3 separate regions of the Homo sapiens genome follow, and regions 1 and 3 are each linked to region 2. Evidence: promoter capture Hi-C in human tissues and cell types (Jung and others, 2019). All regions are on one chromosome and are shown on one strand. Each heading gives the region's core, a stretch centred on a gene start or on the middle of the fragment in contact. The rest is flanking DNA. Distances are from core to core; before and after follow the strand shown.

What was found. Contacts are between HindIII fragments. The study calls those that stand out against the background at their distance.
Region 1: a contact is called between a fragment that was not itself captured here and the fragment with the promoter of TEX36 in region 2, in 2 of the 25 tissues and cell types used here (heart left ventricle and mesendoderm cells).
Region 3: a contact is called between a fragment that was not itself captured here and the fragment with the promoter of TEX36 in region 2, in 5 of the 25 tissues and cell types used here (H1 embryonic stem cells, heart left ventricle, heart right ventricle and 2 more).

Annotation. Positions count from the first base shown.
Region 1 is chr10:125,522,471-125,526,749 of GRCh38, reverse strand. LOC105378544 (a long non-coding RNA gene) reads right to left here. Exons shown (of 3, transcript XR_946438.2): 2 at 3,219-3,384. Among named protein-coding and RNA genes, the nearest start is that of TEX36-AS1, 50 kb to the left of the region's middle. The HindIII fragment of the contact is 3,173 bases long and covers 1,113-4,279 here.
Region 2 is chr10:125,681,183-125,685,241 of GRCh38, reverse strand. It overlaps TEX36 (testis expressed 36), which reads left to right and starts at 2,079. Exons shown (of 4, transcript NM_001128202.3): 1 at 2,079-2,303. The coding sequence starts at 2,253. LOC283038 (a long non-coding RNA gene) reads right to left here and starts at 1,999. Exons shown (of 5, transcript NR_033848.1): 1 at 1,911-1,999. The HindIII fragment of the contact is 13,590 bases long and covers 1-4,059 here.
Region 3 is chr10:125,442,584-125,446,877 of GRCh38, reverse strand. No RefSeq gene overlaps it. Among named protein-coding and RNA genes, the nearest start is that of TEX36-AS1, 130 kb to the left of the region's middle. The HindIII fragment of the contact is 5,237 bases long and covers 3-4,294 here.

The sequences.
Region 1 (4,279 bases), core at 1,450-3,949, 160 kb after region 2:
AGATATTTGGACTGAAGTTAGGAATGAGACAAGAATGCCTCCTCTAAATACTATTATTGCATACCATGCTGGAGGTGTAGCTAGTACAATAGGACAAGAAAAAAGTTAAAGATAGAAATGTTGGAAATCATCATTAATAACAGATTATATGACTATCTATCCAGAAAACCTAAAAGAATCAACTGAATATTATAATCAATTTTAAAATTTAGTATGCTGACTATTTTCTAAATAGATACAAGATAAATACACAAAATTCAATTGCTTTCCTTTATAAAATTAATAACCAGCTAGAAAATATAAAGGAAACAGAGATGCCATTCAAAAGAGCAATTAAAAGTACAAAATTTAGGGAATTAATTTGATAAATGCATAACTTTGGTATGAAAAGTACTGACAAAGCTTTACGGAAGGCTATTATATTATATCTGAATAGATAGAGACAGATAATGTTTCAGATCAGGAAAGTCAATGTTGTAAAAATGCAACTACTCCTCAAAGCCTATTTAATGAAATTTTCACCACAATCCCAATTTCCTTTTTAGTTTTTGTGTTTGTTGATTTTTTCCCTTAATAAATCAACCCCAAATTTTAACAAAATAAAATTTCAAGAATAACCAAGAACATTTTTAAAATGATTTCACCTTACTGAGATAAAGTAAAAGAGGGGAAAGAGTGTATCCTGGTTAGGGACATAGTCTTGGTACCTTGATTTCAAACAATAATTCAGAAATATTAATATGTTTCTGATTAACAGTTCTGGGGAAAGGGCAATGACTATTAATTGAATAGAAATGTTTGGTAGAAGTTCCTCATTATCTAGGGGAAAATGAAGCAATAGCAACTTCATTAAATAAAAAAATTAGAAAAAGGAAAAAGAGGAAACAAAAATGAAAAATAAACATGGATACAGAAGAATCAGAATCAAGAATATCAGTTTTTACACTAAATATAAAATGTTGAATGACGGATTAAAAGACAGAGAATCAGATTAAGTTAAAATGCAAAACCCAGGCCGGGCGCGGTGGCTCACGCCTGTAATCCCAGCACTTTGGGTGGCTGAGGCGGGTGGATCACAAGGTCAGGAGATCGAGACCATCCTGGCTAACAAGATGAAACCCCATTTCTACTAAAAAAAAATAGAAAATATTGGCCGGGCATGGTGGTGGGCATCTGTGGTCCCAGCTGCTCCGGAGGCTGAGGCAGGAAATGGCGTGAACCTGGGAGGTGGAGCTTGCAGTGAGACGAGATCCTGCCACTGCACTTCAGCCTGGATGACAGAGCGAAAAAAAAAAAAAAATCAAAACCCAGCTCTATGCCGTTTATGAGAAATAAAAGACAACTTTTATGAAAAGGTTGAAAATATGAGTAATCAAAGAGCTAACAGATAAAAGCATATAAAAAGAAAGTTGGCATGGCAATATTAATGTCACAAAATGAAATTTTAGGTTTATAGAGCTAAATGGAATAATGAGGTACATCGTGTAATGATAAATGCAAAATTTATGTAGAAGAGGTAATAGTCATAAATCTGTGTGTACAACAATGTAACAATTAAATACCTTAAGCTGAAACTGTTAAAATGCAAGTAAAATTTAATTTAAAAAATATCAACATGAAAGGAGATAGATCTACTAGGTATAAGGTAAGGATGTAAAGGGATTCACTAATACCATCAATAAACTTGACTTCACCGACATACATTGAGCTTTACATATCTCAAATAGAGAGTACACATTTCCCCCCTGTGTACATGAATCATGGACAAAAATAACTCAAGTCCCACTTGGTCACACTAAAACATCTTAATGAAATAAAAAAGCTTATACTTAAAGGCCACATTATTATGTCAACAAATTTTAAATTATAATTAAATAATTCAACCAAAAATCTTAATTAAGAACCACAATTCCACCTAATCATTGGGTCAAACAGAAAATTATAAGGGGAATAGCAAACTACTTAGACAATAATGAAGAGAACACTTCAGTCTATAAACCTATGACACAGAATAGAAAGCTCAGAAATAAACCCATGCATATACAGTCACCGGATCTTCGACAAGGGTGCCAAGAACACACCATGGGGAGAGGACTGGTTCTTCAATAAACAGTTCTGGGAAAACTGAGTATCCACATGCAAAATAGTGAAATTCGACCCTTGCATTGCACCATACCCAAAAATCAACTCAAAAGGAATTAAAGATTTAAAGGTAAAACCTGAAACCTTAAAACTCCTAGAAGAAAATATAGGGTAAAGCTCCTTGACATGGATCTTGGCAATGATTTTTGGGCTATGACACCAAAAGCACAGGCAACAAAAGCAAGAATAAACAAGTGGACCTACACCTAACTAAAAAGTTTTGGCACAGCATAGTAGCAATCAGCAAAACGAAAAGGCAACCTATAGATTTGGAGAAAATATTTGCAAACCATCTGTCTGATAAGGGATTAATATTCTAAATACATAAGGAACTCATACAATTCAATAACAATAATAAGAAGAACCCAATTTAAAAATGAGCAAAGATGTAAGTAGACATTTCTCCAAAGAAAACATGCAAATGGCCCCTTCTAATAGACACAAAACACACACAGGAAGAACACCATGAAGACAGAGCAGGGTGATGCTTTTACCAGCCAAGTATCACCTTGCTCTCTGCCGGGATGATGGATGGCCAGCAAACCACCACAACCTAGGAGAGAGGCGTGGGACAGAAGTTTCCCCAGAGCCCTCAGAAGAAGCCAACTCTGATGATACCTGGACCTTGGACTTCCAGCCCCAGAAATGTAAGATGATAAATTTCTGTTGTTTAAGCCACTTGGTTTGTGATATTTTGTTATAGCAACCCTAGCAAACTAATACAACAGGAAAATGAAATAATAGATATAAACATTGGAAAAGAAGAGATAGAATTACCTATTTTAAAAAATGATACAATTGGATACTGAGAAGCCCCAAGGGATTTGGGTTTTTTGTTACTAGAATTGATGCTTTAACACCTAACGTGGCTTAATACAAGGCTCACAGCTGGGTTCATCTTATGGGAAGCATTGTCAGGAGTGTGACGGGCAGGAGGAGGATGACAGTGGGGTGTCTTCCTTTCTGCTGGACCGAGAATTGGCAAAGGCTGGCTCCTCTACCAAAGGCTAAGCTCCTCGCCAGATGTCCTCTACTACATTGATAGCCTCAGTGACAGCGTTTTTTCCAGGTCCTACCTTGGAAAACCTTGCCCCACTGCGTTGGCGTCCGGGGGTGCTTCTCTTCTCCTTGTTGACTTCCCTTATTCATGCCCACATCTTAATCAATACTTGATATTTAAACTCTCCTCAGTACCCGACTCGAGTGCACCATGTGTTTCCTGCCAGGACACTAACACAGCACCTGGAAGAAGAAACTGGAAAATTATTGATTTGCAATAGTAACAGAAGCCACAGATACTTAAAAATGAATTCAACAAAAAAGTGCAGTATCTAAAAGAAGAAAACCAAAGACTTACTGAATGATCTAAAAGGAGGTCTGAACAAATATTCTTCTTGGATTAGAAGACAATATCATAAAATGTCAATTCTCCCAAATTAATATAGAAAAGGAATCTAATTTTGATTAAAATCTCAATTAGCTTTTTTTTAGTTGAATAGAATGACATTAAAGCTTATATGGAAGAATAAATGCCCCCAGAACAGCTGAGAAAGTTATGGAAAAGAACAGTGAGTACACTTGCCTTACAAAAGAACAGATCGTGCATAAAGCCCTGCCATCAAGTCACTGTGGTATCAGCTAGGAATAGACAAACAGATCAGTGGAACCGAAGAGAGAACTCAAAAATAGATCTTGACAAATACAAAAATATAATATATGACAAAGATTCATCTCAGTGGAAAAAACATGGATTATTTAATAAACAGTGGCAGTGCAATGGCTGCCTGAAAGAAAAGAGAATTGGATCTCTATCTCACATTGCTTAAAAAATATGATCTAGATAGACTAAAGACGTGAAAGCAAAAAAACCAAAACTCGAAACATTTCCATAAAACCCATGGGTCTACACATACCATCTAGGGGCTCAAGAGGCCTTCACCACTAGAAACCTAGAAGTTATAAATTTAAAAATAATAGAGAGATACATGGCTAGATACAGTTTTCAAACTTTTAGAAGACAAATTGGGCTCTGTATAGAGTCAACAGACAAATCGTAATTTTGGAAACAATTATTTGTCATGCAGCCAACATAGAGTTCGGTGCCAGTTTTGCACTGGAGACGCGGAAGGGAAACTGG
Region 2 (4,059 bases), core at 830-3,329:
TAAACATTGACGTGCCTTTCATGTGTTCTTCCTTAGTTTTGCAAAGTACGTTAGAGTTTGCAGAGTATTTATAAGGTGCTATGTGAGCACAATGCTGAGAAGTAGACAGCACTGTGCATCGTCTTCTGCACCCTCCCCCTGCCCTGGCCAGGCTAATTGGAATGAAGTTAGGCTTATTCTTGTTAGAATTTGGGGAATTAAATGATCAAATTAAAGATAAGAGAACACCCGCTGGGGTGGCAGAACCTTCAGGCTGTCCTTTGATTTTGCTTCTCTGTCTCTTCCATGGTAATTAAACTTTCGGCTGGGCAATCATCCCACCAGGACAATGCCTACTTTGCAGCTCCCTTTACAGTGAGGCCTGACTATGTGGTTGAAGTCCTGGCCCACGAGAGGAAGTGTTGTATGGCAGCTGCCAGGAAACTTCCTTAGGAGGAAGCAGCTGAGCCAACTGGGGTTGGCCCAATATGATCCATGGGGACACGCCCTTTCCCCTCTACTTCCCTTTCTGCATTCTGCTGCCTGGAACGCAGATGCCATCTGGGGCCAAGTGATGACAGCTGCCCCCTGGAGCTGGTGAGTGGTGGTAGGTGGGAGGGAGCCTCATCTCTGAGAATCCTGAACAGCAGAGCCACCATATCGAGCCTGGACTACTTCCCTCTGGACTTCACTACGCAGAGAGAATAAATGTCTATCATGTTTAAGCCCCTGTTAGTTCGGGTTTCCTGTCCCAGTCAAATTTGTTCGTAATCAATATAGTGCGTCTTGGCAAGGCTGTGAGACGACAGAACTCCCTTGCACTGCTGCTGCTGGGAGTATTTCTTTACACCTGGGCTTTGGAGAGCAGTGGGCAATGCCTGGTAAAGGTGAAAAATAGTGTCTGTTGCACTGGGTTTGTCAGCAGGTAGCAGAAATCCTGGAAGGGTTTACTCCACACACAACAGTATTGCCTGGTACAGCAGCTCTGCAACACCAAAAGAGGTGGCCCACCACCTTTTCCTCCTCTCCTTACCATGTGGCTTTTGGCATCATAGTGCAAGAGGACCTGTGCATCTCCGGTGTCACATCTAAGGGCCACCTCTGGCCCTTCAGTGCTGGCAGTGGATAAGGTCCTCTATCACTACTACAGCAACTCTCCTTGGAAAACCTAGGAGGGTGACTGGAGGAGGAAAGGGTGGAGGACACAATTTCTGAGTGAGAGAGCAGCTGGACAGGTTGTCCTGCATGTGTTTACTCTCGTATTCACACGGAGTAGCCAAGAGAATTGGCAAGACACAACATTAAAAAAAAAAAGAAAGAAAGAAAAGCAGAAAACACCTTACTGAGTAGAAGGGAGGCAGGACGTGTGTGTCCAGGCCCCGAGAGAAACGCCAGATTTCACGAGCAGCCTTTGCAGCCCTGGGGATGCCAGGTGGCCCTTGGCAAGGCTCATGAGCTCTGGAGCTGGCCCATGACCTTGCTGGGACTTGTGGCATCCCATCCATTGCTGTATGTCCCTTGTTTCCTATTTGTAAATGTTGAAGGTTGTCGTGGAGAAAAAATAAAAACAGGTGAATGTTTAGTTTAGCACAGCACTTGGCATATAATAATTATTCATGAGTGTTACTTCCTCATGGTCTCAATGCTGTGCCAGGCAGGTAAGAGTGGCTGTGAGTGAGTCCTGAGGTTGGGTCCGAGCTGAGACACAGAGGCTGCCACAGAAGGAGATGGTAGGCAGCGTGGGTCCTGGGTGCAGCAGTGCCACTGATGCAGACAAGGTCACCCCCAGCCTGGGACTCAACTTACTTCTCTGAAAACTAACAGGTTGGAACATACAGTTGCCAGGGGGACATGCAACTCAAACATTATTGGTTCAAAAATTGAGAGGGTACAAAATGTTTGCCATTACCCCCAAATCATCTTGTCCTTACCTGTCTGAGCTGACCACAGGGCTTCCTCAGCTGGGACCTGGTGGCTCTTTGCCTCTTACCCTGGGGAGTCACAGCTGCAAGGAACCAGTGGCAAGAATCCTCCGAGGGTTTAGAAGACTCCTTTGCCCATTGTGATGGGTGAGTTCCCATTCCATGACAACAATGGGCACCCGCACCTTCCCCTCCTGGAAGAGGCTGAGAAGTAAAGATCAGGAACAAGGAGGAGGAGGAGCTTCCCAGACGTGTAGAGCTTATGAAGTTTAGGAAGCAGCTTCCCAGACATGTAGAGCTTATGGAGAGGTGAGGGAGCCAATCTCAGCCACATTCAGCTTCCTGGAGAGAATGACCAAAGGGCGACGCTTCAACCCACCTTCAGACAAGGATGGGAGATGGGTAAGGAAGATGGTGGCCCCTGGTGCCTTTCTCATGCCACGTGGGTGTGGTCAACAGTCTGAGGAGTTCCAATCCTGCTTCTACTATTACTGAAGCATGACCTTTGACAAATCACTTCACTTTACTCAACCTCAGTTTCTTCATCTGTGACATGGGAATCCTCTAACACTCTTGCAAAGATTGAATGAAATAATGCATGTAAAATGCTCAGCACACTGGAACCTCGTGAATGTCCACTAAGCAGTCATTCCTGCTCTACTTTTTCTTTCTTCCTTAACATCTATTTTCTAACATACTACAGAACTTATTCTCTTATCTATGTTATTTTTCTCCCCTTGCTAGAATATAAGCTCCATGGAGCTGGGATTTTTGTCTATTTTATTCACTGATGTATCCCCAGTGCCTAGAACAGGATCTGGAGCATAGAAGGCACTCAATACATATGTGTTGAAGTAATTATATTATACTAGAAACCTCTAAACAAATTCTTGTTGGCTCCCAATCCAATTCCTTTAGCCCCTCCGGCCTATGAAATGAGAAGAGTCCAGGAATGCATCATTTACTCATCTTCATCACTTGAAAACTTTCCCTTTCCAGCTTCACGCTCTCCCCCAACTCTTGCTCTTCTGATGTCACTTACAGAGCCTGTGGGATTTTTCACTCTTCTACCATCTTCAGGAAACATTTGGGTCACTCCTAAGTGTGAGGTCTTAGCCTTGTCGGCCAAGCACTTCTCTCCTTTGCTCTTCAACATGTATATTTCATGGCCGACAAGCCTCAAGCCTTTCCCATTTCTGATTTCTACAATTCATTCACAAAAAGAATGTTAAGGGGAAATCACAGCAGTAGACTCGCAATGAGAAACATAATCAGAGAAAAACCTGACGTCGACTTCTTTTAGGGTAGCAACAGGTAAAAAATTGTTAAAATTTTAATTTGTTTCAAAGAAAAACAGAAAACACTTCAGCAAATTTGGGTCTGAAGGCTTTAAAAAACTGATCTACCCACTTGGATACAACCTTGGCTAAGCAGCTTAGTCTTTCTAAGTCTCAGTTTCTTTGTCTGTAAAATGGGAGCATAATGTACCAAGGGTAGAAGACCATGGTGGGGGATTCACGACTCATTAACAAGTGCTCAGTACAATGAGTGAGCACATAGAAACCACTTAACATATATACACTTTGTATGTATGTGTACATATACGTGTATACACACAAATGTATACCTTGTTTCATTCCACAAAAATTTAAAGCATGGAAAATGTACACAATAAAATAATACAGTATAAATCAAATAGAAAGTTATAACTAGTTTTATAAATACTTTAGAAAGAGAAGAGGCTGAGTCTGAGAACACATATAACATAGACATAATATTAGGTATATTTCCAGGATTATATGGTAGATATTTGGGCACCACATTTGACTCTGAGTTCCCTGGCAGCCAAAGTAAAATGAGAGATAATGTCAACTCCATAAAGCTAAGTTCCCATGAAAAGAAAAATGTAAGTTGCTCAGATTAAGTAGCTTTCCCTCTAGCTATTACCTATGTATCAGTTACAATTGTTAGCCTGAATTTTATAGAAGGCTGACTAAAGTGACTACAGTGTCTTAACCAAATAGGGATTTATATTTCTTAAGTAACAATGAAACCTAGAAGTTGGCCATCCCAGGCTAGTACAGCTGCTCAAGGGAGTCATCAGCAGCTCCCTTTTCAGCATTCTGTTTTGCCATCCTTAGTGTGGGATGACTCCAGC
Region 3 (4,294 bases), core at 1,372-3,871, 240 kb after region 2:
TTGTTTTAATGAACCATTCCGTTTCACCCACCTTACCTGAGTTGTAACCAAGAGGCAGGTTTAGCTCATCGCTTTGGCTTGGTGCAGGCAAGACAGCTCTGTGCTGCTCTTTGGTTTCCTGAATCTGTGGTTGGTGCATCTGCAGATTAGCTAATGGATGGTGCTCTGTCTTGCCAAATGTTAATGGTGTAAAATGTGATCATTTTGCTGACAAATGCAAACAGGTTTCATTCTGACTTGCAGTAGAAATAATCCCTCAATTTTGCAACCTGGGAACAATAGATTTTGTTGATATTGATTACTCCACTTCTAGCTTCTTCCAGTGATACAGTGATTCTTTCTATTGCAGCTCTCAGGTGATATGTGTGTGATGTTCTCTCATTAGCACCCTAATGACAGATATGATGAATTCCATGTCGGTATTGCACCATCTTATAACCGAAAATGAATTTGCTAGGGCAGTTGCTGAAAACACATTGTCTGTCTTACTCTTTCCTGCTTGCGAAGTTGCTGTTCCCTCTCCCAAAGTCATGAAAAGCTCAGCATCTCTGATGCCATGTCACACCCTGGTGCATTTCTTTACAGTTCAGTACAACTCCCTGAGGAACTGGCTTTTAGTATTGACCTTGGGTTAATATTAATAGTCTGGGAGTTTTTCCAGAGAATGTCACTTTACATATATCTCCACTTCTGCAAATATATGCAAAATGTAGCCCCCCGTGCCTCTCATTATGACGTTTCTCCCCAAATTTTAGTAAAAAAAAACTTTAAATTTTTATAGGAATTTGGCATACAATTCCACACCGAAGAAGCCCATTGGTAGGACTCTGCTGATGGCTTCTAAATTAATAATGTAAGAATTCATTAATTTATATTGCATTTCCACTACTATCATAGGCCATGGAGAGATAAGAGTGAGCCAAAACACTCCTCAGGGAACCCGTGGTCTTGTGAAAAAGAGAATGATTGCAGAAACTAAAGGGCAACAAACCGTGGTAAGGGCTCGAAAGGAATAGGGAGCTCTAAGAACTTCTAACCCAGAACTCTACCTAGGCTTGAGGGCAGGGAAGGCTGCCCTGAGGGGATTTCATGTGAGCTAAGTTCTGGAGGATGCTTCAGAGGCCTGAAGTGCGCGCAGAACATCCCAGGTAGAAGATGTGCAAAGACCTAGGAAGAGTCCGGGGAGCGTGAGGGGTAGGGAAGGCTGGGTGGGACCCAGTGGCTGTGGGGAGGTGGAGAGGGGAGAATCACACAAGGCCCACCAGTCCTGGTGAGCATTCAGATCTTTATCCTAAACACCGTGGGAAGCCAGAGAAGGGACAGGTTGTGGATGGAGATGTGATCAGATTTCCATTTTGAAAACAATCCCCCAGGCTTTGGCTGGAGAATGGGTTGAGAGAGTTCAAGATTGGAGGTGGGCAGCCTAGTTGGGAGGTTTTCTTAGGAGTCCAAGAATGAAATGGTGGATGATGGCAGCTTGGATTTGGGGTTGGCAGGAAGATGTAGATGGACTGGGGAGACATTTAGGGGCTGGATGGGCAGACCTTGGTAGTGGATGGATGGGAGCGGAAATGTCAAGGATGGCTCTGAAGTTCTTTGCTTGTGCAGATGGGTGGCTGGTGCACCAATTTACTGACACAGGCCATGTGGAAAGGGGACCTGGTCACAGCGAAGGGTCATGAGTCTGAGATGCCTTGAAGATACCTCAATGCATCCTTTGGTTTTCTTCATGCCATTCTGAATCTTAAGTTAGTCCAACTAGCGTTATCCACATCCGCCTACTACACAGCGGTGGGCTGCTGCAGCCAAGATTCTGGTAGCCAGGGTTGAAAACAGCAGGCGAGAATTCCCAGTGTCTAAATAGCCACACGCTGGATGGCAGGGGGCAGGATTGAGCTCTGTGCTACCCACACACAGGGAAGGACGGAAGGGCACTCACTGAGGCAGGTTTCTCTCCCAAGGAAGGTGCCATCCCCAAGGAAGAGGCCTGCAGCGTGGGGAGGTAAGTTTTCTTTGGGGCTATTGGCTGAGGGTCAAGCTATGTTCTCTAGCAGGTTTTCGTCCACAATAAAGCTGGTATTTGATCGACTTCTGTCTGCCTCGCGCCATTCTGCACTCGTCCCATTACTCTCCAATAATGCTCAACTGCTTTTCATTCTGGCTCACCTCAGATCGTTTCCAGCCTGAGGATGCTTTACGTTACCCAACATGCCCCGGGAGATTCCAGCAGCAACTCTCAGGCCTTCTCCCTATGGCCACTCTCCTTCTTGTGCCTGGCTGGCCTCCTCACCCTTGTGCCCACACTAGAACACAGACACCCTCCCTTTCCAACCTCCTCCCTTCGGATTGGGCACATTCTTCATAGTCAGAGACTTCTCTCATTTCTTCCCAACCTGGATGCCCTCACACTTTTCTCTTGCCTCATACGGAGAATTCTTTAGCTCGAGTTGTCCCCTCTGCCTGGAATGTGCCACCCCACTCCCCTGTCCGGCCCACCCTCCTCATCTCTGAATCTGCCTTGGCACTGCTTCCTTCAGGGTCCTCAGTGGCCACTGCTACCCCTCCTCTGCCCAGGGTGGTCACGTGCCTGCCCCTTGCACATGGCCCTGCCATTGCTCTCCCATATTGGTCTCTGAGGCCCTGTTTATGTATCTGCCCCTACCACCCACTGCCAAGGGTCAGGAGAGGGTCTGCCTCACCAGCGCCTGCCCTGTGCCAGACCCATGGGAAACAAGCAGTAAGTGTTTGTGGAGAAACTGAAAGTAGTAGTTGTTGGAGGTACAGAAACAAGAAGTGTGCATTTTAATGGAATTGCCTCACCTCCCATTGATGCTGGAGCAGGTGTTTCCTAACTCCCAGTCACCCAGTGTGTCTAGCACCTAAGAGACAGCAGGGCAGCTAAGAGACACCAGGGCAGCAATGGCGGGATGGGGAGGAGGAATGTGGACAAGACCAGGGCAGGAGCGGGAAGGGAGCTCTACCCCAGACAACTCCTCCTTGGGATTTCCAGGCGACTCGGCCAAGCGAAAGGCAGAAACAAGAAAACATGGAAAGGATGGCCACTTGTAAGTGGGATGATAACAAACATATGTATCAGAAACATTAGTACTTTCAAAGCGCTAAGCTTTTTGCAAGCATCGTGTCATTTAATCCTCAGGACAACTCTGTGAGATGTTGAAGCTTTTATTATCCCCATTGTACAGATGAGGCACAGAGAGGTTAAGTAACTTACCCATGGTTACCCAGCTAGGAAGTAGAAGAGGTGGATTCAAACCCAGGCTGCCTGGGACAAGAACCTGCACTCCAGTACATCAGGAAAGGCAGCAGCTAAGACATGTTTTTAAATGGGAAAATGCTTCCCTCCAAGACTGGTAGCCCAGTGTTATTAATATCAGATTATAACAATGCACTGAGCTTTCATTGGAAAGGCTGACGTGGTTCCCAAAAAATGTAAGCAAAGGCAGGCAGATCACAGATTGCCTTTCCTGGAGAGAGGCCGAGGGGTATAGAAAAGGTGAAAGGAAAGTTAAGTACTTTGTGAGCCTGGACAGGGGACGGGGGTGGAGTTTAGGCAGAACAAGGCGCGTTTTTTTCCGTATGAGGCAAGAGAAAAGTATGAGGGCATCCAAGTTGAGAAGAAATGTGAGAAGTCTCTGACTATGAAGAATGTGCCTGGACCAAAAGGAGGAGGTTGGAAAGGGAGGGTGTCTATGTTCTAGTATGGGCACAAGGGTGAGGAGCCCAGCCAGCCACAGGGAGGAGAGTGGTCATACGGAGAAGACCTGAGAGTTGGTGCTGGCATCTCCCAGGGCACGCGGGGTAACATAAAGCATCCTCTGTCCTGATCCTCCGGCCTGCTTCCATTCATACATGACTTTAACCACCAGCCAGGGTGCTGGGCCCAGTGACACGGCGGTGACAAGGCAGGGAAGGCAAGGTCCTGCCCAGGTGAACCTCATAGTCCAGACCCTGAATGATGTCCACATGTGGTAAGTGCCACAGTACATTAGCGTGGCAGTTCCTGCAGTGAGTTAGACACTGTAAAGACCCTTCATGTTACAGACCAGGAAACATGAAAGTTGAGTTACCTGCCCAAGTTCACAGAGCTAATGACCCTCTGGCAAGAGGTCGACGTAGTGTCCAACATGCACATAGGGCTTGGAGACGCATTTTGAGCCACTGTGCTGAACCGCCTCCCTGTCTAGACAGTGGCAGACCACCACGTTCAAACTCACCCCACTGTGAAGGCTGCCAGAGACCACAGCCAATGAAAGGCAAGGCAGAGACTGGAATC